Linked DNA regions of Homo sapiens: region 2 is linked to region 1. Evidence: promoter capture Hi-C in human tissues and cell types (Jung and others, 2019). All regions are on one chromosome and are shown on one strand. Each heading gives the region's core, a stretch centred on a gene start or on the middle of the fragment in contact. The rest is flanking DNA. Distances are from core to core; before and after follow the strand shown.

Region 1 (5,698 bases), core at 3,156-5,655:
ACGACATTATAATGGAAGATCACTAATCTCCAGGAAATAATTACAGACTCTGAAAAAGGCAGAAGTGGGACTATTTCCCAGCAGAACTGAAAAAAATTATCCCACTTAGCTCTGCCTTTGATTGTGGTGAGTGAACTTCCCCCTTCCATATTTATCACACAGGCTTTAATATTGGCAGTACTGAGCTGTTGCTATAGCTCTCTCCGCTTCTTGAGATTTCTTAAAGGGTAATAGAGGAGTGGATTGAGAGAAATAGGTTATAGCTTTGTGAAAAGATGGTTAAACAAATGCACAGGACATTGGAAAAATTTGGGAACTACTGTGACCCCTTCCTCAGCCAAAGACTGCGTCAGGAAAGAAGAGATCTCTTATTCTTCTAGGTAATCATAGAAAAAAATCACAAAATATTTTCCTAACTTACTTGAGAGAAAAAGTGCATTTAATTTATAAAGTTATGCTATTTCATTGATGATCATAAACCATTTTTTGTAAGACTCATAATTATTTTACATTCCACTTAAGGAGGCAAAAAAAGACAACTAAATTGGCTGACACTATGAATTTTAAGGCACAACCTAATTTCAGAGATGTTAAAATGTGGAAAAATGTGTGCCTTAGAATCAATAAAATACAGCATTTTAAACCATTGCCTCTCCTGCTGTAATGAAGCCCCATCACTGGCAGAAAATGGAATCTAGTTAGGTACTTGAAATGTATGACTCCTAGCAATACTTTCTCCCTAGCAATTCAATTCTGATATTTTAAAATACTGACCTTTAGACAAAGTTGGGACAGGTTTGTGAGAGGAACTTGTGTTCTGGGCATTGCATTGCATAGATTGCCCAGGAATGTATAACCATATAAATCCTGCACACAGCCTGCTTTGTGGAACATCTTGGCATTTTTTTTCTTGTGCAAGGCTGACATCTGCTGGACAAACAACACTTAAGCAAAGTGTTGCATTTTAGAGTAAATTCAATTCTTGGCAAGAACCTACTTGTGGAGTATATACTACACATTTTCTGAGGAGAAGTTGCATGTAATTCTTATCTTTGTTTTTTTATAGGTAAGGTGTTTTTTCCTTCTGGCTTCTTTTATGATTTTTCCCTTTACTTGTGATTTTCTGTAGTTTAAAAATTATAAGCTTAGGTGTAGATTTTTGCGTTTTTTTGTGCGTGTGTTTATTCTTTTCGGTGTTCTCTGAGCTCTCTGGATCTGTGGTTTGGTATCTGACATTCATTTGGGGGAATTCTCAATTATTATTGTTTCAGATATTTCTTTTATTTCTTTCTCTCTTTCTTCTCCTTCTGGAATTTCCATTATGCATATGTTACACCTTTTGTAACTGTCCCACATTTCATGGATATTCTCTTATATTTTTTTCAGTCTTCTCTTAGCTTTTCAGTTTTGGTGGTTTTTATAGCTATAGTCTCAAGCTCAGAGATTCTTTCCTCAGCCATGTCCAGTCCACCAATAAGCCCATCAAAGGCATTCCTCATTTCTGTGACACCATTTTTTATCTCTAGCATTTTTTTTACTCTAAGGATTTCCATCTCTCTGTTCATTTGTTCTTGCGCACAGACTACTTTATCCATTAGAGCCCTTATCATTTTAGTTGTTTTAAATTTCCAGTTTGATAATCCTAACATCCCTGTCATATCTGAGACTGGTTTTAACGTTTTCTCTGTTTCTTCAACCTGTTTTTGCCTTTTACTATGTCTTTTTTTTACAACTGGACGCGATGTACTGAGTAAAAGAAATTGATGTAAATAGGCTTTTAGTAATGTGGTGGTAAGGTTTAGGGAGAAGGGAAGCGTTCCATGGTCTTATGGTTAGGTCTCAGTCTTCCAGTGAGACTGTGCCTCTGGATTGTGACTCTCACCTGTGCTTCTCATCCTCTCTGTCCCCTTTAATGGGACGGGATGGCTAGAGTAGGCAGGAGTTGGGTGTTTCCCTTCCTTCAGGTCGGTTAGTCTCTGATAAAACCTCATCCGGTTAGGTTTTTGGTATCTAGTTTCTCCCGAGGGAAGACTTTGTTAAGAGGAATAGAATGCTCTGCTGCATTTCAAAATGGTTCCTTTCTCCCGCCCCCTGCGGGAAACACTAGGGGATTTTTCTCCAGTATTTCCTGTGAGAACATGGTTGAGCTCCTAGAAGTAAGACTCCCAGAAACAAGGGGCCTCCCAATGACTGGGTCTCCCTAGAGTTTTTATTTCTCAGACTGGTCCATGCTGAGCATCCAGTAATTCCTCGGTTATTGTCCGGGTTCTCTACCGTGGTTCTGATTCCTGGGGGAGTTTATGCTTTGGGGTTTTTGCTCTAACAAGTCATAAATCTTTGCATTTGCCTATTTCTCTAATTTGAGGAGAAGTGGTTTGCCCTGTGACCCACTTCTCTGATGGGTCTAGAACGGTTACTAATTTTTCAGTCTGTTCAGGTTTTTACTTGTTGTTTGGGTGGAGTGGCCGCTTCTAGCTCCTAACATGCCAGACCAGCAACTGAAACCATCTGAAACTTCTTGAAGTGCATATGACATATTGATGCCTTCTGCTATTTACCTCTTTTGTGACTAAATACATACATATGATTCATATACCCTGAGATGTAGGTAGTAGGTAAGAGAGAAACAAGAGTGATTAGATTCCTAAAACCACAGAGAATTAGAATTAAAACAGTTAGAATTGTAAATATCTTTGTGTGTCTGAGCAAGTACCACTGAAATTTTGGAGTATTAACTAAGAAAACAATTAGACTAGAAAATGTAGAAAATGGTACCAAGATATCCAAAATAAAGGAATCTCTAAGCAAGATTTATTTACTTAATTCAATAAAGATTTTAATTTATACTATCTGGGGAAAATACCATTATCCCTTATGCCATTTTCTTTGTGGTTGTAGCAGATAGGTGGTTAAAACTACAGAAAGATTAATTTTCATTAGTTTAAATAATAAATTACTGGCCAAACTATTTAAAGGTATAAGAGATATCTCTGAAAAAATTAATACTGAAAAACTCATATCTGGAGGAAAGAAATTTTAGCTGCAATAAATAACAATGTGAAATTCATTTCCTGCTTTGAGGAGGGGAGGGAGAGCTACCTTCATCAGACCACAGTTGCAGAAGGGAGCTCAGACCCTAAATGAGCATAGCTGTGAGGTACATTGAGGAGTCTGCTCTGAGTTCAATGATGTGGGCTGATTAGAACATAGCTGAAAGCAGGTGTTGGGATATTGATTTCCATGGCTGGTCCTCACCTGTTACAAAACTTCTACTACAATGAGTTTCAAACTTCAATATGCAATCAATTATCTAACCTAAAGATCTTGGTAAAACTGTGATTCATTAGGTCTGGGGTGGGGGCTGACAGTCCACATTTCTAACAAAATCCCAGGGGATGCTGATGCTCCTTGTATCTGTACACTACAGTTTGAATATTAAAGTTCTACACAATGTCTCCTGGAACAGCAGTTCTCAGACTGTGATTACCAGACCAGCAGCAATAGCATCACCTGAGAACTTCTTAGAAATGCAAATTCTTTGGTTCTATCCAGGCCAATTCAATCAGACACTCTGGGAGCTGGGATCTGGTCATTTGTATTTTAACAAGCCCTCCAGGTGATTGTGATGCCTGCCAAAGCCTGGGCATCATTGATCTAGAGAGGTATTTTCCAGCCATAATAGAATTACCTGGAAGCTTAAAATAATTAGTCATTGGTTTCCAATTAAATCAGAATTACAGAATGTGGGACCCTTTATTATGGGTTTAAAAAAAAAAAACCTTCCTCATTTGATTACAATGTGCAGCCAGGTTTGAGAACTGCCTGAGAGAGGCCCACTTACTTCACGAGTCTTTGCCAGCAAAAGTCTGGTGGTGGTGGGGGTGCCTGGGTCTGCTGGGCCAGCGACTCTGACTCTGCTCCTCCTCACTGTTGCTTTGCACCTGTAACCAAGATCCCACAGAACTCAGCCAGAGCCAAGGGGGAAAGGGGGTAAGGAAAGGTGCAGGTGGCAGGTAGCTGTAGGGGAAGGAGGCTGAGTGTACTTGAGAGACAGCCTCTTCTGTGGTGTCAGGGACACAGTAATGAGGAAGGCAGGAGCGGAGGTGTAGCTCTACATTCAAGGAGAGGTGACATACATGCAAATGATATTTCAAATAATCACGGCTTCTTTTTGTGGCAAGGATTTAAAAGCTTTTTAAAGAGATCCCAACACTTCATGGAAGTATCTTCCATAGACCCAGGCGAGAGGAGTTCTGAGTCTTAGAGGGTCAGAAGAGTTGGTGGACTTAGAGAACACGAAGAGTTGGTGGACTTAGAGAATGTGCCCACCTAGTCCTGCACTATTCCTTCTAGAACATTCTTTGGTTACCCAGAATCACAAAGTTTGCTGGTCAAATGGCCCCAAGCCGGTTGCAGGAATGTGCGCTGGTTTTGCCTGATGACTGTTCTCTCAAGGGCTGACCTCTCCAGTAGTGTATGCAGCCTAGGCCCAAATGATGACCAATGGCTCTTTGTGTAGGTGGGAGCTTGTGGCATTTGGATGTGCAGGCTCGGGTAACCAAACATGGACATGCAAGGTCCCTTATGGTATAGGACAGGTCTGGGCACTGGAAGATAAGGGAACAGGTCAGGAGCTGGGGAGTGGTTCTGCTCACACTGTCACATTTTAGCACAGAAGTCCTAACAGTCTGAGAATCCTAGATTGAAATCTGGACTTCTGGGTCTTTATGGTTAGATATTTGTCAAGGTAAGGGAGAATTTATTTTATTTAAGAGTGGTTAGCTTTGTGTAAAACTGCTCTCCATTTGTAATCTCATGAGGACCACAACAAATGGTGATGAGAGGTGTACTTAATGGGAACATTAAATGGCAATCAGATCAGGTATTACCAAAGGAGCTCTGAAAACTCGACTGCTCTTAGGAAACCAGGCCTCTGTCTCTTTCTCCCTGTATATTAACCCTGAATTGAAATCAGAAAGTGGTATATCTGGCTAGGACAGGAAGCCTGGATTATTTTTCCCCCAAGGGTTCTAACCCTTCATCTTCTGGGAAAGAATCTACAGCCTTTCTCTGCCAGTCTCTCCCTCACCTCCAACCCACTTACCTCCTCCAAGTCAAAAGTGTCCTGTGGCTGCTGGCTTAAAGACCGACGCAGTTCTGGTCTGTCTACACTCTGCTTCCATTTCTGCTGGGTGATGGACAGGTCCAAGGACTTAACCTTCCTGCCCATGAGATTCTTCTGGAAGAGGCTCTTTCTTGCTCTGCTCTTTCTTTTCCAGAAAGTCTCATCCTTGGCTGGATGGGTTTCCGTATTGGTGGCTGGTAGACTACACAGCTCTCTCCTTATCTGAGCTGGGTCTGTGCTCCACTGTGGATCTTCTATGGGCAGAGAATGTGTGCAACAGGGTACCTTGGGGTTCGAATCCAGAGTTTGGGATGGTGCTAGCACTGTGGACATCCTCTGCTGTGTTTCCTCTTCACAGCAGAAGACACATGGATAGGGAGAAGTGGGCAACTTCTTACCCTCAGCAGGGGGCACAGGATCTTCCTGTGAGAATTGCCCCAAATCAGAGTCTTGCTGGAGGAACTGCTTCTCTTCTTTCACTTTGTCCATCACTTCCAACACAACTTGGTCCAAACTGTTCCTTTTGGGGGTGTTGTGGGGTGGTGGTGGCCGGTCTCGGGGGCATGTGTACAG
Region 2 (6,236 bases), core at 522-3,021, 410 kb before region 1:
GTGACTAGGGTCTCAGATGCAGCCATTTCTTGGCTGGGTCTGGGGAAAAGCCAAGGGATGTGTGCTAAAGGTAGATGGACAGAGGGTGGGAAGTCCCTTATTATTTCCACTTTTTTCTCCATCTCTGACTCTGCCATCTCTTTCTGCCTCTGTACTTTCTGGGAGCTGGTTCTGCTGATACTTCTGCTGAATCTAAATGCTGACCTAACTTGGCAATTCTTTTATGTTAGGAGTCTTAGCTGTGACAGTTCATCCGCTTCTTCGCCCTTCCATTTCACTTCTTTTCTCCTTCTCTGACTGGGAGAGGAGGAGCCTCCACTCAGTATTTAGAACAGAGTAAATACCTTCTCCTGATCACTCCTCCTTCCAACCTCCAGAATTTTTTGAAATTAAAATTCACATTCTGGGATCCTGGATTAGTGGCCTGTTTTGGATTCAGTAGTTAGTGAATATATCTCCACTTTCTGTTGACATAGGAGTTTCCCCAATGCCAAAGCAGGTGGTCATTAAGGGAGAGAACAATATGGAGCAAGAGAGGTGGTTCCTGCAAGAGTCCTAGGTAGGACTCGGTTGGATGGAGGAGGCTTTGCCCTTTTACAAGGTCTTGAGTTCAAATTCCAGTTCACTCCTTCCACAAATGTTTATTAACCAGCTAGGCTGTTTTGTGCTGGGCCTTTAGCTCCTAGATTTCTTTCTCTGAAGACAGAACAGAAAAAATGAGCTGGAAGTGCTTCAGGAGGGGTTTTGATATCAGGAATGCTTTCCTGGCTGTGTAGAGTTATTACCTAGTCAAAGAAGAAGATGTTAAGCTGGGTGCGGTGGCTCACACCTGTAATCCCACCACTTTGGGAGGCCGACGTGGGCGGATCACGAGGTCAGGAGTTGGAGACCAGCCTGGCCAATATAGTGAAACCCCATCTCTACTAAAAAATACAAAAATTAGCCGGCGTGGTGGCCCGCGCCTGTAGTCCCAGCTACTCCAGGAGGCTGAGGCAGGAGAATCGCTGGAACTGGGGAGGCAGAGGTTGCAGTGAGCCGAGATCGCGCCACTGCACTGCAGCCTGGGCGACACAGACTCCTTCTCAAAAAAAAAAAAAAAAAAAAAAAAAAAAAAAAAGATGCCTGCTCTGGAGAGCTTTGAACTTGGAAGAAATTCCTATCTGCTAGGCGGGCAGGCAGAAGTACCATGGAGAAGGCCACAGTCTTGGAGACAGGTGGGGAAGATCAAGCTGAGGGACCCGAGGCCAAGTGTGGGATGCCATCACAGCTCAGGGCACACCCTGAACTTTTCCAAGACAGGAGCACAGGTGGGGTCTGGTCCGACTGGGTTCCGAGTCCAGATCTAGCAGGGAAAGATGTGTGCTCATCCCCTACCCCGCACTCAGACATGGGACACGCAGGCAGCTAGGCACACGTGGATACATGGAACCACAACCACATACACAGAAACTCAAAACACACGGAGAGAACCCACACAACCACCCACACCGAAGTCCAGCCCGCCGCCTCCGCTGCACTCTGTAAACACGCACTCACATCCGCCAGTACAGGGCACACGCAGCCACTCGTCCCCGGCGCCTGTGTGCGTGCGCTCGCCCTTGGGCGCTTCTGTCTGTGTGTGCCCCCGGCTTCCAATCGTTCCTTTGGGAGGGGGAGGAGTGGCTGTGAGGAGTGAGAGACTGGCGGGCAGGCTGAGGAGAAGGGAGGGAGAGCAGAGGGAGGGGGGAACCCGGCCGGGGGAGGAGGAGAGAGGCGAGGAGGCGGCTCTGGCAGCGCGCGGCGGCGGCGGCGGTAGCGGCAGCAGCAGCGGCGGTGCGGAGAGCTTGGACTGGGAGCCCAAAGCTCGGCTGGGCAGCGGGAGAGGAGGAGCCGCAGGAGCTGCAGCTCTGCCAGCTTGGGCCGAGCCTAGAGACACCGGCCTGGCTGGTCCACGCCAGCCGCAGGTGGGAAGGGCCTGGGATGGGGGGTGAGGGTCTCTCGGCTGGGGCTGAAGCTGAGCCGAGGTGCTGTCTCCTCCTTCTGTTCCGTAGACCGTGGCTGAGCATGGAGCTGTCCCCCCGCAGTCCTCCGGAGATGCTGGAGGAGTCGGATTGCCCGTCACCCCTGGAGCTGAAGTCAGCCCCCAGCAAGAAGATGTGGATTAAGCTTCGGTCTCTGTAAGTCCCCGGCCCGGGAATGGGGGGAAGGGACCTTAGGGAGCCTGAGCGGGAGGAGGAGGGGGGATAACTGGAGCAGGGCTGTGGGCTGGTAGATTCTCTTTGGCACAGATGTTGGCAGGTGCGAGGAAGCACGGCCCTGACACGCGTGGCCAGGCCACATGTGCAAGGCATGTGCGGAGCAAGCTGGCCAGTTGGAGCGGGCTTAGGAGTTGCAAAGGTAACGATGTGCCTGTGCCTGTGGACCCCAGGCTGACACACGCAGCGCCTAGAGGCAGCACAGTATATGCAGTGTGGCAGGGCTGCAGGAGGGCAGTAGAGGTGCCAGGCTGACTCACACATATCCATGTGCAGAGTTGTGCAGATGTGAGCCACATGACATGTGTGTGCATGAGTGAGCGTGGGTCACAGAGGTATGTGGAGTGATTGCACACAGCTGTAGATCTACTGCATGGGAATACTTGTGCCAACCTGTGGGTCATATGTATCTCAGTTGGGATTGGTAGTTTCTGCCTCATGCACAGGAAGTGGGGTGGGGGTTACCCCATGCCTGAGCTGCTCATCTCTTGGGGCCTGGAAACTCACTCTATGTATTAATGATGAGGGGACCCACGTGGAATCTGGAGGGGGGGTTGGAGCCCCCACCTGGAAGCTGAAGGAGGTGATGATGGTGAAGAAATATTGATTGACAAAGGCAAGGTAACTGGCTTAATCAGAGGCTTTTTGTTTATATAGGGTCTTCCAGGATCTCCAAGCACATTTGGGCATCTTTTCCTATTGTTGCAGTACCAGGGCATGTGGGGAGGAATAAATGGGGGAAGGAAGAACTCAGGTATCTGATACTCCAGTCCCAGGGGAGGAAAGGAACTTTTCCCCTGCTCCTTAGAAAAAAAAGAGGATTGGGTCAAAGACAAGCCATGCACCATGTTTATCTCCCAGTCAGCTGCTGCCATTGGGAAATCTCCGCAGTCTGTTGATTCTTAATCAGGGAACAAGAGAAGATGTCCCTCTCTCCGAGATGAATCCATGGCCCCAGGAAAGAGGAAACAGATAGGAGACTATGGATGTTTAGAGAGGAAACACAGTAAACATAGCCCTGAACCCAGTTCCTCCTCAATGTTCTCCATAGTGAGCACCGAAGCTTTCTATTTCTGGGTTCTGGGAGAGGGAGAGATGGGGGTAGGGGATGGATAGATGCTTATGTTGTATTGTTCTTTAAATACTTCACCTATGGTGATAAGATGACACCTTTTTATGGCAGATGGGTCTGATTTATACACTAGCTACTTGGAGAGGCGTTAGGGAGAACTGAGGCATAGTGGGCAACAAGGCTTGGAATCCAAATGTACTTCTCAGTCCTCCTCCTTGGCTGCCTCTGGCCAATCCAATTTGCTGGGCTCTATGAAGCACAGCCTTGGAATGAGTTCTGGGATGAAGAAATGGAAAACCAGATTGAACTGATTTTTGTTGGGAGGAGCACTGTGTGATTCTTGATAGAAAATGACGCTGCGTTAATGGTAAATGAGCTGGGGAAAGGGGCAGATAAGGAAGTAGTTGAAAGGTAAAGAAGGGCCCCAGGTCCATAAATGGGAGAATTCAGGATGGCTCCCCTAACACTAGTGGCTCATCATACTTACCTTGCCTGTATTCCAGGTAACAGGGCCCTGCGAAAGAGTGGGTATTACTAGTTTCACTATCTCCCACACATTTCTAACCAAAAGCCTTTCCTGAAAATGAATTGTTGTTTCTTCCTTTAGTGTGAGAAGTGCTCAGTGGTGAGAGAAGAGGATTCCCAGAAGGAGGCATGAAACCTGGGAAGAGAAGGGAGTAGAGGCATCTGTCTCTCCAGAGTGCCTTAGCTGAGATGTCCTTACATGAGATTAGGGTGGACAAGGATCCCTATTCTTATTGATTAGATCATTCTGGTCTTCACTCACTTCAGCAGTCTGGTCCTTAAGAATGCTAGCTTTGTACAATAAATTTACAAGTAAAAAATAAAGCTAGCTACATGTAATATAACTTACCCAAAAAAGTACAATCTCCGGATTATTAATTGGCAGGAATAGATTCCCAGTCTTACGTCCTTAAAGCAGAGAAAGACCTTGAAATCAAGGTAGATCCCAACTTGATCTATGTTGATGGCCTACTGGATTTTGCCTTTTTGAATATTGGGGAGGCTTTGACTATCAGATGAAGGGAAATAAAAGGATTTAGGGCTTTGCTGGGTAAGAGGTGGGAGTTTCCCAACCCTCTCAATGGGATGGTTTCTGAATAGGTGAGAAAGGAGATGTTCCCCCTTTTAAGTGGAAATAAAGATCCCCCTGCCCCTTTGGTCAAGGTGGGAAGGGGTTGCTAAGTCTGGAAATAGGAAATAGACATGATTATCTTAGGACTGGGTACTGCTTGGAAATGGAAACATGGCATATATACTTGTATGTATTTATCTAACTATCTATCTAGATTCTTCTACTCAACACATCCTATTCCCCCCCTTCTACCCTTTTAATTTCTAATCAGGACATCCAGACTTTCTTCAGGGAGACTAGGCCTGGTGTTTTTGACTCTGGATAAAAAGCCCACACTAATATAATAGTGCAGGGCAATTTTTTGTTGGGAAGAGCATCCAAGAATTCTGTTTCCCACACTAAGACCCTGTCAAAAATAAATTCAGAATCTAATCTGTATCATATGAGCTGAAGAGAATCTCTTAACTGTGTGATTTTACCCCTATTTTCAGAACAATTTCTCTAATTAAGCAAACTCATAAACTGAGGCATGAGAGAGGGTGAAAGAGGCCATCTGGAGATGATGAGTTGGCCAGGATGATTTTCAGCATCTGTAACCCTAAGAGGAAGTATTTGACTTGGCTGTCCACCCTTCTCTGAGATCAGAGGGCTTTAGGGAATGGGAAGAAGACCAGAAGAGATAGAAATGATTTTCTGTGTCTTTTGTGATTCAAGAAAAACGATGAGCAGACATTGGTTTGCCATCCTCAGCTCATTTATTTATCCAACAACTATTTCTTGAGTGCCTTCTATGGACCAGGTGGCATGCTGGATGCTGAGAATACAGTCGGTGGTGGACAAAACAGACATAGTCCCTCTTCCTACAGAGCTTGTAACCTGCTTCAACTCCATCAAGTGGTGTAGAGAGGCAGGGGGCTCTGTATTCCCTGTTTTGCTACACCCACCCAAGTGATGAAATTCTACCACTCTGGGTTTCTGCCTCATTTTTTCTTTAGGGGGGTTATATACATAGGAAAAGCATAAATATGAGTTCTCTTTTTCCCAGGATGGTACAAACACCACTCTCTTTTCTCTGCTCCAGTTTCTCTTGGAATTTTACATTTTACAGATGGAACTTCCCCCTTCCTTTGGGACAGTATAGACATAGTCCCTTTCTCTTTTTCTTTCCCCACATGGTACGCACTCGGGACCCTCAAAGTCTAGGCTCAATGTTCTATGCTGTGGTTCAAGGTCATTATAGATGAGCTGGAGCAGGGACCCCACTGGGGATTATTTTTGCTTATCTTTGTTTCATCAGAGTCTAGTGTGATACCTTGAACATAACAGGCACTCAATAAATGCTGTTAAATAAAGGAATGAACAAATGAAATAGTGAATATATGTACATATGTTACGAGGTCCAGTTCTGTCTCTGGTTCTGTGGTGCGTGTATACCTCCGTGTTTGTTGAGTGGCGGGGGGAGGAGTAGGAAATGGAGGTGGAGGAAAGGGAGATGATGATGATGCTGTTTTTTTGAGAGGGTGATGCTTAAAAGATATGGGGTTTAGGGACCTCAGGACAGAGCCTGGAACTGAAGGAGTTACAGAGAGGATCCAGAAACTGTGGCGTTTGGATTGTGTGAATGAGATATGTTAGGATGAAATTGTGAATGCCTGCCTGACACGTATACATGTGTTTGGGTAAAGGTTGATATGTATGCTGGGGACAGAGCTCCATGAAGATGTGTCTGTTTTTATAAGTGGCATGTGTAATAATAAATATATTGGGAAGGTGTGCACTTACCTGAATACCTGAAATTGTCCTAGTTATGAGATGATGTATGTGTGTATGTAGG

Evidence for each region. The method cuts DNA at HindIII sites, captures the fragments that hold promoters and counts their contacts. A contact is called where the count stands out against the background at its distance.
Region 2: a contact is called between the fragment with the promoter of PDE1B here and a fragment that was not itself captured in region 1, in 1 of the 25 tissues and cell types used here (adrenal gland).

What each region holds. Positions count from the first base shown.
Region 1 is chr12:54,957,327-54,963,024 of GRCh38, forward strand. It overlaps TESPA1 (thymocyte expressed, positive selection associated 1), which reads right to left. Exons shown (of 11, transcript NM_001136030.3): 9 at 5,105-5,698; 10 at 3,842-3,941. The coding sequence ends at 3,843. Among named protein-coding and RNA genes, the nearest start is that of TESPA1, 25 kb to the right of the region's middle. RefSeq lists an enhancer at 1,995-2,044. The HindIII fragment of the contact is 3,973 bases long and covers 2,420-5,698 here.
Region 2 is chr12:54,547,830-54,554,065 of GRCh38, forward strand. PDE1B (phosphodiesterase 1B) reads left to right here and starts at 1,772. Exons shown (of 16, transcript NM_000924.4): 1 at 1,772-1,943; 2 at 2,031-2,156. The coding sequence starts at 2,044. NCKAP1L (NCK associated protein 1 like) reads left to right here. Exons shown (of 31, transcript NM_005337.5): 31 at 1-414. RefSeq lists a silencer at 1,697-1,756 and an enhancer at 2,322-2,950. The HindIII fragment of the contact is 5,954 bases long and covers 1-2,721 here.